Regions from separate parts of the Homo sapiens genome. Here regions 1, 2 and 4 are each linked to region 3. Evidence: promoter capture Hi-C in 16 types of primary human blood cells and fetal thymus (Javierre and others, 2016). All regions are on one chromosome and are shown on one strand. The core of a region is centred on a gene start or on the middle of the fragment in contact, and the rest is flanking DNA. Distances in the headings are between cores, read along the strand shown. Region 1 overlaps NALCN (sodium leak channel, non-selective). Region 2 overlaps NALCN-AS1 (NALCN antisense RNA 1). Region 3 holds the start of NALCN-AS1 (NALCN antisense RNA 1). Region 4 overlaps NALCN (sodium leak channel, non-selective).

What was found. Contacts are between HindIII fragments. The CHiCAGO score rates a contact against its expected background, and 5 or more counts as called.
Region 1: a contact is called between a fragment that was not itself captured here and the fragment with the promoter of NALCN-AS1 in region 3, in 1 of 17 cell types (endothelial precursors). The highest score is 5.8, in endothelial precursors.
Region 2: a contact is called between a fragment that was not itself captured here and the fragment with the promoter of NALCN-AS1 in region 3, in 1 of 17 cell types (endothelial precursors). The highest score is 6.1, in endothelial precursors.
Region 4: a contact is called between a fragment that was not itself captured here and the fragment with the promoter of NALCN-AS1 in region 3, in 1 of 17 cell types (endothelial precursors). The highest score is 7.2, in endothelial precursors.

The regions. Positions count from the first base shown.
Region 1 is chr13:101,124,563-101,127,849 of GRCh38, forward strand. It overlaps NALCN (sodium leak channel, non-selective), which reads right to left. Exons shown (of 44, transcript NM_052867.4): 18 at 46-119. Among named protein-coding and RNA genes, the nearest start is that of LINC00411, 180 kb to the left of the region's middle. The HindIII fragment of the contact is 4,097 bases long and covers 1-3,287 here.
Region 2 is chr13:100,996,936-101,000,179 of GRCh38, forward strand. The region is part of intron 2 of NALCN-AS1 (NALCN antisense RNA 1); the gene reads left to right. Among named protein-coding and RNA genes, the nearest start is that of LINC00411, 54 kb to the left of the region's middle. The HindIII fragment of the contact is 1,305 bases long and covers 1,298-2,602 here.
Region 3 is chr13:100,706,238-100,709,659 of GRCh38, forward strand. It overlaps NALCN-AS1 (NALCN antisense RNA 1), which reads left to right and starts at 2,088. Exons shown (of 8, transcript NR_047687.1): 1 at 2,088-2,156. The HindIII fragment of the contact is 7,868 bases long and covers 491-3,422 here.
Region 4 is chr13:101,097,032-101,100,152 of GRCh38, forward strand. All of the region lies in intron 27 of NALCN (sodium leak channel, non-selective), which reads right to left. Among named protein-coding and RNA genes, the nearest start is that of LINC00411, 150 kb to the left of the region's middle. The HindIII fragment of the contact is 556 bases long and covers 1,594-2,149 here.

The sequences.
Region 1 (3,287 bases), core at 1-2,500, 420 kb after region 3:
AATCCCACTTGTGTTTAAATATGTGTCAACATTAATTGGTGTTACCTTAAGATTTTAGTGACTGCGGTCTCCTTTTCCAGAAGGTTCCTTGCCCTGATGCTGAAAACAGACTTGCGAAGCTGAAAATGATAAGAGTATGACTTTTAGTTTTGGAATGTTAAGAAATAATATACTGTCAAATCATTCAATAGATGACATTGTTAAAACATGAAACATGAATATGTTTCGCTAAAGCATCATCGTACAATTGACAATTCTTGTCTATTTTTACTTTTATTTGGGCAGCACCATGAACAAACTTGTGGGGCCCCACGTCCCAGCCACGGATGGTGCATTGGCTGTGCCTCACTCTGATAATGGCCTTCGTCTGAATAAAATTTTCAGTTTCCAAAGACTTTAACGTTGACCCTCATACTGGACTCCTTATTTGTCTTTGATTAGCGCAATGTTCTCTAATCCACATTATGTCTGCTGCAGGTTCTTGGCCTGTAACCTAACACTAATCTGAACAATGAGTTTAGGAGTTGTTTTGCTTGCAGGTGTGGGGAATGAATGAAATGGGCATTCAAGATCTCTTCCTAGTTGGCGATGATAAAATTACTCCAGAGAAGAGAACTAAGGAGAAAACCATCCTGGATGCTGACTGTAAATTCAAAGATATACTCCCCAAGCTCAGTTCTGTGTGGCTTGCTAGTTGCAGATTTTAGATTGGTGGAAGGTGTACAAGGAGTTAAAGCAGGCAGAAGAAGGGCAAAGAGAAAACAGGCAAATGGGCCACTATGTTCTCATAATAATAAATAAATAACTAGATTCACAATAATAAATAACTAGAATAAATAATAAATAACAGGAAAGTGTAACTCCAGTAGTCAGACTGAAGATAGTAATTGAGACCTGTTCATTTTGATCAATAGATTAGATTTACTGAGCACTTAGCATGATATTAGTGACCATAGGAGATTTAGGGTAAATAGAATTTGGAGTTCTTGGTTTCTAGAAGTGAATAGCCTAGATAGGAAGACAAGGGTAGGACACATGAGATCATCAGTGACAAGTACAGTGCAGTAGATGGCACAGTGCTAGATGATACGTAAAGGAGAAAACACAAGATCAGAGGGGCTGGAGCTCTCTGCGGTGGAACAGCAAGTCTGGACTAGTCGGCAAAGGCTTCAATGAAAAAGTGGAGGTTATACTGGGCCTTGAAGGAAGGCTAAGATTCCTAGAGGCAAAGGCGGTACTGGGTGAAGGACTGAAGTGGACATGTGTGCACAGGGCAAGTTAATTTGGTACAAACTACCTGTATAAGTGCTGTGCTAGCCAGATCTTGAAACCAGGCAAGAAGCCCTACAGGGCATACTGTGTGTCAAACAAAGTTGAGGGGGGAAAGAAAACCCTCAGAAGACAGAAAACTCTGTATTCAGTAAAAATAGATCACCTAGTTAGTTTCTTTTCAACAAGGGTTAGGTATGTTGAGGTACAAACTCACAGCACCCCATTCTACAAACAAAGCTATGAACAAATGCTATAATGTCAGTCAGTGTGTCCATAAAGCCATAGTGGAGAAGAACCAGAGTAACAAACAGGTCTTTTTAGTCACAAATGATAACCTAGATAACATCAAAACTAGCAATCCACTTTTCATATTTTACAGCAGATATGTAGTAAAGATCAGCATCACTGAACATACTGGTGATTTCCCCCTCATGAGGAAAGGTGGTTTGTTCATTTTTCTGCTCAAAAATGAAAAACCGGAATTGGTTTCATTATTCACTAGAACTCTTAGGAGAAAAATTAATGTATGGACAAGGAGACAAGAGTGGATACCAACTATTTGGAACTTCCATTTTCTTGGTAGCACATACATGCTATTTCCAATGATAAATCTTGAAACTTTCCTACTTCTCCCCTCCTGAAAGAGTTGACTTTTGGCATAATTTTTTTTTTTTTTTTAAGATAGTCTTGCTCTGCCATCCAGGCTGGAGTGCAGTGGCGTAATCTCAGCTCACCGCAACTTCCACCTCCTGGGTTCAAGCGATTCTCCTGCCTCAGCCACCCGAGTAGCTGGGACTACAGGTGCCCGCCACCATGCCCGACTGATTTTTGTATTTTTAGTAGAGATGGGGTTTCACCATATTGGCCAGGCTGGTCTTGAACTCCTGACCTTGTGATCCACCTGCCTCAGCCTCCCAAAGTGCTGAGATTACAGGCATGAGCCACCACACCCGGCCAAAAGTTGACTTTTGACATGGATTTAACCTCTCTTGAGTTGACAGCTCAGCTCCTAAGGAAAGCTGCTTGGAGCCGCTTTTGGAGATGGAAGACTCAGCTGGTGGCCCCATCATCGTGGAGCATCTGCTCTTTAGACACCTAAGAACACACATAGTCCTGAGACAGACCCAGGCACAGAGGTCCTGTGACAGTGAGTTTTAAGAGAGGACTCCAGATTCCACAACTCTTATTTCATCTTGAAAGGACAATGACATGTGTTAGTTGTCTTTCCTTCAGTGGAAGATGAGAGTCTGAATCCAATCACTTATCTACTGCCCCTGCAATTTCACGTTAGGAAAAACTTTTGGGATAATATCTGGTACACTATTGCCTAAATGATTTCTGCCCTGCACAAGATTGCTAAAAGGCTACTGAATGGCCTTTGTCCTGAATTTGAACTAAGACAAAATACAGTATTAATTCATACAGGAGAGTACTTGAGAACTGTTTTTATAACTAATGCCAGAGGTAGCAGGAGAATCAATATTATAATAGAAAAACATCAGATTTAGCTTTGGGATGTTCTTTTGTTTTGTTTTGTTTTTTGAGAAAGAGTCTCACTCTGTTGCCCAGGTTGGAGGGCAGTGGTGTGATCCCGGCTCACTGCAACCTCCGCCCCCTGGGTTCAAGCAATACTCCTGCCTCAGCCTCCCTAGTAGCTGGGATTACAGGCATGCACTACCACACCGGCTAATTTTTGTATTTTTAGTAGAGACGAGGTTTCACCATGTTGGCCAGGCTGGCCTCAAACTCCTGACCTCAAGTGATCCACCGACCTTGGCCTCCCAAAGTGCTGGGATTACAGGTGTGAGCCTCCACACCTGGCCTTTGGGATGTTCTTAAAAGAAGGAAAGGACTCACACACACATATATATGTCTTCTTTCATCTACTTATACATATATATATGATATTACATTTGATGTCCTAGATATGTATTTAGATCGTTATATACTTTCTTTTTTCTACTAAATAAAGAAGGCCTATAGTGATTATCTAGTTATTCCCTTCTTTTTTCTTA
Region 2 (3,244 bases), core at 700-3,199, 290 kb after region 3:
TTGGAATTGAGGTGTTGGTTTTTAAGCCTCCTCCCAACCCAACAAGATTTCCAAACCGTACTCCGGGTCTTCTTCTTAAACTTGCTCCTCCTGCAGTCTTGCATCTCATAAAATGGCTATTCAATTCTTCTAATCACCCTGGAGTCATCCTTGATGTGCCCTTTCCATCACATCTTACATCCAACCCAACAGCAAATCATCTTGGTTCTGCCTTCAAGATACATTTAGAATCTGACCGTGGCTCCCTACTTTCAGTGCTGCCCCCCACCCCGCTCAGCCATCCATGGAAGTTTCTCACCTGGAATATTGTAATAATGTGTTCTTCAATGCAAATCAGATCTGGTCACTCGTCCACTCCATTTCACTCAGAGGAAAGTCCAGCATCCTTATCGTCACCTCAAGACCTTTTGGGAGCTGTCCCTCCATCTCGCTGGCCCACCCCAGACCTCCTCTCCTGTGCTCTCCCTGTGACCCTTCACTCTACTTACAGAAGTGGGATTGGCCACCTGCTATCTCCAAGTGTACCCAAGCCTACTTTTGACTGTGGGCTTGTTCCCCAGCTCTTCCTTAAGCCTGGGGTCTGTTTTCCTAGGTATTTCCCTGGCTTGCTCCCTGGTTTCCCTGGCTTCTCAAATACCACTGTATCTGCAAGTTCTTCACTGACTACCCTCCACAAAACAGTACGCCCTCCCACTCCCCCATACCCTCTTACTCTAATTTGTTTTTCTTCATACCTCTTGTATTACCTTGTTAGTTGTTGTCTTTCTTCCTCTCCTGCCCTCTGACTGCCCCTTGTAGACTGTAAACTCCTTGATTGCAGGGACTTTGTTTAGTTCACTTCTGTTCTCCCTTTGCCTAGAACTGTACCTGGCACAGAATAATCAGTGAATAATAGTTTTGTTTTGAGTTAACTGTGAATGCTATTTGTGAGAATTAATCCTAAAATATGGAATAGGAAAAGGTTGAGTTGAAACTGAAAACATTATTCCAGGAAAATATTAACCGGAGTGGCTGGCAGTGTTAATGCCAGGCCACACAGACTTTAATGAGAAAACAAAATTTAGGAGAGAGACAATCACTATACGAAGAGAAAAAAAGAAAAATCTCTAGTAAGATACTAGAATTCTAAACCTGTTTCCACCCATGTTACCACTTGGCTCTGTATGATGCAAACATTTTAAATGACATTTGGAAGTGGACAGATCTACAGTCATGATGAGGGATTTGGCATGCCGTGCTCAGTAATTCATAGTATAAACAAAAATACTAGGCAGGATATGGGAGATTAAAATTTGAAAGCTTAATATAATGGATACACATCCTTGCTCCCAACATGTAAAGAATTCTTGAACTTTCATGACACATGAAACAATTTCCTAAATAGTGACACTAGAGCAAATTTTAATAAATGCCAAAAACTGATATCAAACATGCCATGTTCCCTCGGTGCAATCATACCACAGTGCAATCAAATTAGAAAGCCATATAAAATATTAATCCTTATCCATAATTTAAAATTTTAAAACACAATTTTAAGTATCCCATGGGTCAAAGAAGAGTCCATTATGAAAATCCAAAAATATCTGGAAGTGAATGATAGCACCAGTGTTACGGAACACAACTCATGGGATGCAGTTAAAACTGGAAAGATGGCTGTATCCTAAATACCTCCATTAGAAAGGAAGAGGACCACAGAATCAGAACTAAGTGTCCAAATGAAGACTCTTGAAAAAACTCAAACTTCATTTTTTTCTTCTCATTTTAAAAGAAATGAAAACTTGTTCTGGCCCCTAAAAGTATTGCTGGCTGTCATCCCTGGTTCTATGATGCATGTGTAGGCTGAGATTCAGCTAAATGGAGCATCTATGGCAAGAGGCTTCAAGGAAAGCATGAAGAAAATCCAGTAAGTTCTCATGTCCCACTCATGCATTTCTTATCCAGCCTTCCAGCTGGAGTGCAGTACGCAGTCGCTGAGTTGATCCTGACGGCATGTCCTCTCAAGGACCAAGATTGTTGGTGACTTTTTCTGTGTGTGATGAATCGTGAAGTGACTTGGCAGAAGTGAGAAGATGCAAATAGGCAATTAGCTTCTGAAAGTTAAAAATTGATGCAGTAGAAGAAAAATAATATTTTTGCTTATCCTCTATTTTCCATATCAAAATAAGATAAACATAAGTGACAGAAACTTTGCTTTTAAAGACAAGTAAGGAGGCAAGGTAGATGTCTGCTCTGAATTCATCATTCACATGGCTAACTTTCTCCCGTCCTTTGGGTCTTTACTGAAATGTCATTTTATCCCAGAAGACATCTCTGACCACCATGTGTAAAATGACAACATCCCCTAACATGAAACACCCCAAAGCCCCTTGCTCTCCTTTATTGATCTCTGTGCCCCATCAGGAATGGGAACTGACTTGGCAATTACTTGGTGTCGGTGTCTTGTTCATCGTTGTTCCTACAACCTATGGTCGTGGTTGACATAAATATTTACATCTCAATTGGTGTTTGATGAATAAAACATAAATGTATTTGCTAGAGTATTTATTAAAATGGGGCTCTTGGACTTGAACCCTTGGCAGTTCCAAATGCTGACCACATTAGAAGCTTCAACTATCATCTGGTTTAGTGGTCAGAGTTGATTTGGCTAATTTGAATGATTCAGCAAGAGTCTTTTGAACCTATTCATTATGCTAATTACATCCTTCCCAATCTGCCTGGTCCAGGGGAGATTTTTTTACCTGTAGATTGTTCTTCAGACTAGAATAGACAAGAAGATTTCCCCTCTTTTTAGAATCTCTGCAAATGTTTTGAAGAGATATTTGAGGAGAAAAAAAATTCTCCATTCTTCCTTTACTTGTATGTGAATCTGGACTTGGACATTTAGAGCAATTCCTGCTGATCAACCTGAAAAGAGAAAATTTAAGAAAAGAGATACAGGAAGATACTGGAAGTAAAGTCCCTATAGGACTTTGTAACTTAAAGTATCCCAGGACACTTCTGTTCTCTGGTAGTGATAGAAAGTAATATTTATTAAAGCAATTTGACAAATAAAATGGCATTGCCCTGAGTGAAAAATGGGGTTGTAATAACCCCGAATGACTGTTGTTAGTATATGGGTAATGATGAGACTCTTTATCCTCTGTCTTTGTTGATAGGTCATTCTTGCCATCAGTAACTGGAACAAGAGTTAAAATGCATGTGGCATTTCCAAAATGCCATTTCTTGTAGAAAGGTTAGCACCGTA
Region 3 (3,422 bases), core at 838-3,337:
ACGTGAGCTGCACTCACCACTTCTCCTACATCCGGAGCGAAAACAACCTCCCTTCCTTCTTTTCTTTCCTCTCCCCTTCTCTTTCTTCTTCTCTTTCTGCTTCCTTGTCCTTCTCCTCATTCCTTTGCAAACCATGAAGAGATAAAACTGTCCATGATGAGATGCTCAGTTTTTTCAAGACGAATTGCTGTTCCACCTCTTAAAAAAAGATCTCACTGCAGAACTGTGCACCCGCGTTTATAAATGTTAGATAACTATGGAAATGATTTAATCAGTTCATCAACACATTTGTTAAGCACCTGTTTTCTGTAAGGCACTGAGCTAGCCAATGAGGGAAAAAGACATGTGATAGACATCGGTTTGCACTTTATTTCCTCTCACACGTCTGTCGTCAGTGCCTTATGTACGTGTCACCTAGTCTATTAATCCACACTTCCTTACTGAGTGCCACCATGTTCCAGGCAGCATGAGAAGCAAACAGCCTTCAGGAAGCTTCCCTCTTCTCCACACACTTTCTCCTTGTTAGTTTGCTCAGACTCCATAACCAAGTACCACAGGCTGGGAGTCGTAAAACCACAGAAACTTACTGTCTCTAGTCCTGGAGGCTAGAGTTTGAAATCAAGGTGTTGGCAGGGCTGTTGTCCTTTCGAGCTCTAGGGAAGGGTCCTTCTTTGCCTCTTCCAGCTTGTGGTGGCCCACAGCACTCCCCGGCTTGTAGCAGCATCACTCCAACCTCTGCCTCTATCTTTACGTGACCTTCCCTCTGTGTGTGTCTGTGTTCAAATTTTTCTCTTCTTAGAAGGACAGCAGTCGTGTTGGATAAGGGCCCGCCCTCATCCAGTATAGCCTCATTTTAACTTGATTCCATCTGCAAAGACCCTATCTCCAAATGAGGGCGCATTCGCAGGTTCTGGGGGTTAAGACTTCAACATGTCTTCAATCCGTCCACAAAACTCTTCTTTCCTCCTTCTCTTACCCTCTGATGAAACTTTCTTCTCTTCTACTCCATTCTTTACCATTCCCTTTTCTTTTTACACAGCTGTATCTTACTGTCTCATTCACCTTCATCCCAGACGAGCCTCTCCTTCATTTCCAGCTTCATATGAGTCCCCATGTCTCTCCCAGTGGTGATGCTGGCTCCCTTGGAGGTGGGGCACAGTAGCCCAGAGGGGTATGAAGGAGAGCGAGAGCGCAGGTGAATGTCTTTAGTGACACTCATCTCAGCAATTGTTCCCTCTCCCATTCACTCAGTGTCCTGCAATCTTGAATATACCACCCATAGGGAAGCATGAGGGAAGGAAAGAGCTGAGAAAGGAGAATGAAGATAAGGATGAAATTCCCTAGATAATCACAGCAAGCAATTAATCTAATTAAGCTAATATTATTCAACTAATTTTATAATACCTGCCAGAATGTTATCAGATTTCGCTGAAGTGCAGCAGCATATTTCAAAATAAGTAGAAAGGGATTACAGATCCTAACTTTGGCAATAAGACTTTGAATCCATGGACTCTGTCTCGCAGTGGGGTTATTGGCTAGTATATCATTGGTGCCTGTGGAATACTTGAGGGATTCCAGTTAGATCAATCAGTTGTATGACCTGCTGCATGTAACTGCTGATGAAGAGGCTTTATCGAGCTGAGTCAGCTTCTGATAGCTGAGCCTCAAAACCTCAGGTGTCTCTCTCTTCCATCATTTACGCAAGAGTGAGAGGTTAGGTCAGACCCTCATTGGCACAATTGTTTTAGCTCAGTGGTTGATGAGCTGATTTCCAGTTTCTCTCTCCCACAAACCTGTGACTCACCCACAAAGGAACATTAGTGGGCTTTGCGGCCCTGATTTCTGGCATCCTAGGTGGGAAAATGAAGAGAGTTAAATCATGATGACACATTGCACACCAGCTCTGCAGGCTGTGAGCCAACTGTGAGAGGCAGGCACAGAGAGCTGGTGATATGGTTTGGTTCTGTGTCCCCACCCAAATCTCTGTCAGATTGTAATCCCCAGTGTTGGAGGAGTGGCCTGGTGGGAGGGGATGGAATCATGGGGGCGGACTTCCTCCTGGCTGTTCCTGTGATAGGGAGTGAGTTCTCGCAAGACCTGGTTGTTTAAAAGTGGGCGGCACCTTCCCCTTCGCTCTTCCTCCTGCTCCTGCCCTGGTAAGAAGTGCTGCTTCCCCTTTGCTTTCTGCCATGATTGTACGTTTCCTGAGGCCTTCCCAGCCATGCTTCCTGTGTGGCCTGTGGAACGGTGAGTCAATTAAACCTCTTTTCATTATAAATTACCCAGTCTCAGGTAGTTCTTTATAGCAGTGTGAGAACTGACTCATTTCAGCTGGTGTATTAGTTTTCTATGGCTGCTGTAGCAAAATACCACAGACAGGGGAGCGTAAACAACAGAAACGTATTCTTTCAAGGTGTCAGCAGGCCTGGTTTCTTCTGAGGCTTCTCTGCTTGGCTTGCAGATGGCTGCCTTCTCAATGTGTCCTCACGTGGTCTTTCCTCTGTGTGCACACATCCCTGGTATCTCTCTTTGTGTCCAAATTTCCTTTTCTTATAAGGACACCAGTCAGATTGTGTTAGGGCTAACCCTCATGGTTTCATTTTAAATTAATTACCTCTTTAAAGGCCCTGTCTCCAAATACAGTCGCATTCTGAGGTACTGGGCGTTAGGGCTTCAATATAGGAATTTGGGGGTTGGGGAAGACACAATTCAGCCCATAACAACTGGTTAGCCAAGAGGAACTAGTTTTGGAAGGAGCATATGACTTTCTTTTCTTCCTTTTCTTCACCCCCACCATCCAGAGCCTTGATTGGGCACTTCTAGCTAATACCTCTGGAAGTTGTATTAACAATAAAGTATCTCTAAGATAAGGTTTTCCAAATAGCTTCATATTTCCTAGAGTACTTGCTAAAATGCAGATTCTTGGGCTACCTGAAATGCTATAAATGGGAAGCTCTTAGGGTTGTAGCCTAGGAGCCTGTATGTTCCCAATAATTACTTCTCCAGGTAATTCTAAAGAACACTAAACTGGAGTTGCGTCACTATCAGTTGGAGATGATTGACTTGACAAAACTAATGATTGGTCACTACTTTTTAAATATGCTGACATGCTTTTTGAATAAAAGTTGCAGAGAAAGAGCAGGCTGCTGTGGGTGAACTGTGCATAACTCTATTTTATTGATGTTTCAACCAGTAAGGACAGACTATTACTGAAGCATTAACAAATAGCTGCGGTGATTATAAATTATTGTCACCTAAATGCAGGGAATCCCACGAGTGTGTGTTGAACATGAGCATTCTATGCATCATGCAATTCTCCAGAGGAAAATCAAAGAGCAAAAGTGCCTCAGACATTCTTTCTAAAACCAGTAAGATTGTATATAGAGAGATGTTCCTCAACTTTGGTGGGGTTGCATCCCAAT
Region 4 (3,121 bases), core at 622-3,121, 390 kb after region 3:
AGGGTTCCCTGGGCTTTCCCTGTCCTTCTTGGCCCAAGTCTCCATTCTTACTACGATGAGTTTAGTAATGCCAACGTTACTTCTTTCTGGATTACCAGCATGATTCTTTAAAATAAGAATATTTTAATGCAAATAACACATCTTTAATTTATAAAGCCTGGACAAATAAAAGGAAGAAAACTTACCCACAATTGCCACAGACAAACACAATGAACGTTTTGGAGTATATCCTTCCAGTCTTTTTTCCTATATGTATCTGAGCTCATAAAGTTTATATTCTTCCATCGCCCACTTTTTTCAGCTAAAACTACATTGCGATTATCTTTCCATAACCATACCTTTTTATGTAGAACATTATTTGGAAAGGCTGTGTTGTAGTGTATTGTATAAAGGTCCCTTGACATATTTGGCCTCACTGCCTTTTCCAATTTGTCTTCCTGAACCCACCTGAGCCCACCTTTGATTGCATGAAGCAGTCTGGTATCTTGGTGAAAAGCCAGGGTGCCTGGACACTAGTTCCCTGCTTCTCCACTTATTAGGTGGGTGACCTTGGACAAATTATTTAATCTTTCTACACCTGTTTTCCTCATTAGGAATGGATATCCTCATTAGGATATGGGTAACAAAAACAGCACTAGGAATGGTGCTTTGTACTTTGTGGGCACTAGGATGTGTCTGATTCCTCTTCTTACCAACCTTTTGTGGTTTCTCACTTCTCATCAACGAAATTCCAAACCCCTTAGCCAGGCATTTCAGGCACTTGAGGATCTCTCCCTAACTTACATTTCTGGCCTTGTTCTTCAGTTTTTTCCTACATGGGCGGGAATGAAATTAACACTCACTGTTGAGATCAGGTTAGGTACTTCGCATAAACAAGGTAATCTAATCTTCATAATATCATTGTGTGAGAAGCATTCAAGGCAGAAATAGGTTCCAGAAGGATTAAGTGACCAGACCAGGCCATCACCTCTCCTGAAGTAGGATTCCAATCTCAGAAGCTGTGATTTCGAAGCCCATGCTCCTTCCTCCTTGTTCGGTCCCTGCCTCTACACTGTGACCCTTCTTTGTATGCTCCGTGTCCTTCTTCACTGCTTGCTCTCCTTGGAAGGTCCTTTCCTGCTCATCTCAAATCCCACCTCCTCCCTGAAGCCCTCCCAGTACAGTACTCCCAGTTGGAAGCACAATTTCCCATGCTGACATCATAGATTACATGTTATTTCTGCTTCTCATAGGCTTTTGAAAACTGCTGACTTTATATTACTGTTGCTTGAACATGAAACACGTTCTGATTGGACAGAAAATGCCACAAAACAGAAGCAAGGACCTCCTAATGTTTCCCTTCCACATTTCATTTCACCTATCACAGTGCCTTGGACACAACTGACATTTAATGACTATTTGTCAAAAGGTATCCTCAGCGTTTGTTTACAGGGTTTTGGTGACAAAGTCCTAGGCTCCATATCTATATCTATATTGATCTCATGACATCTGTTGAGTTTTAAGACAACAAACAAAGGAGCAGAGGGAGGAAGTGCTCAGCCTCATACAAGAAAACACATCTTCCCAACTGGAAACTATGGGCGCAGCAACTGAAGCTTCGTTGTCTTTAACAGGAACTGTGTGTGATCTAAATGTTGGTGTATCTACTTTCCCCCTTTCTTTGGATTTATCTCTTCTTTTAGTAAGATGGGCTGAAGTTCTCCAACAGAACTTCAGCCGACGTCACCTTCACTCATGGCGTTTTTGGCCTCGGCCTCGGCCTCTTATGTTTGGATTTGAGAAGACAAAAAGACTCAAGCCCCGTCTCACCGTGCCAATTTCTTTTCAATCGTTCTGCTTGGTGCTGGTGCTCTCTATGATGGCTGAGTCTCCTTAGGCTTTCCATCTGAGCCTCGCACAGACCTCACTGCTCTAGGAAACAGGATAAATGCATCATGAAATCTGTGTCTATGCTCATCTGCTGGCTGCTGTCACCATCAATCTTCAGCTTTGGCTGGGTATGAGTGGATAATGTAAAATCACCATGCTCTTAGGCCACTGTTAATATACTGAGTCATCCAAGATTCCTAGCAGGCTTCATCCTGAAGTGTTATTATCTTTCTGGCCTCTGTTCAGTGTGGATCAAAAATCACTCTTCTTTCCACACACAAGCTTGTGGATGAATGCGTCAGGTCTCTGTCACTTTCTTTATCAGCTAATTTGATACGGCATGACCGTCAGGCCACATTCCTTGTTCTGTCTTCTCAGGTGTATCAAAGCTCTTGGAATGTCTCTCCCAGTCTGGCCTTTGTTTCAAATTCTCATTATTAATATAATTTATAATGTATTTTGGCTGAACAAAGATGTTACCTGTATTTTGTCACAATTAGAGAACAATTTGTATCATTTAAAATCTATACTAGATAGCCATATTTGCTAGAAATAAATAATGTAGTTCAGGTCTAGTAGGCCTTTTGAAGATATACATTTAGGAACTGAGGCATCATTTTATTGGGATCAAAGAGAAAATGCTTTTCTAGTTTATACATCAGCAGTGGTTGGTTTACTTTATGAATTTACTTGTAACATAAGAATCCTAAGAGAATGGGACACTTTATGATATTACAAAAATTGTCTAATTATTAACCAAACTGTGTCCCCCTTTTATTTTTCTGGAGCACACAACTAAATTCCAGCCCCCCTTGCAGTATCTCTGCTCTTTACAGAGGAATGTGGGTGGAGCAGATTCTCCCACAGCCCACTCAGTTGGAGATGGCTCTCCACTGTTATCTCCAGCTCATTGAAGAAGGCTCTGAAGACATGGCAAAGGGTGGCGGCATAGGATAGAAGGCATGTGAGTCCCTGAGTGGTCATTTGGAGGAGAGCTGTATATAGTGTATATATTGCAAATGTATATATTGCAACTGATCCAAGATGCAATATATACATTTCATTATGTGAAGCTACCGAAATATTGGGCTTGTTACAGCAGCTAGCCTTCCCTTATAACCAATGACTGAAGAAAGAGAAAGAAACGCCGTAGTGCAAGTATTCAAGTTTGGGTCTTTGTGGAGGTCCTTGTTGGTTGTCATAAAGAGGGAGATTCTGGGCAGCTAGAGCTAATGTAAAGGCACTGGCTTTC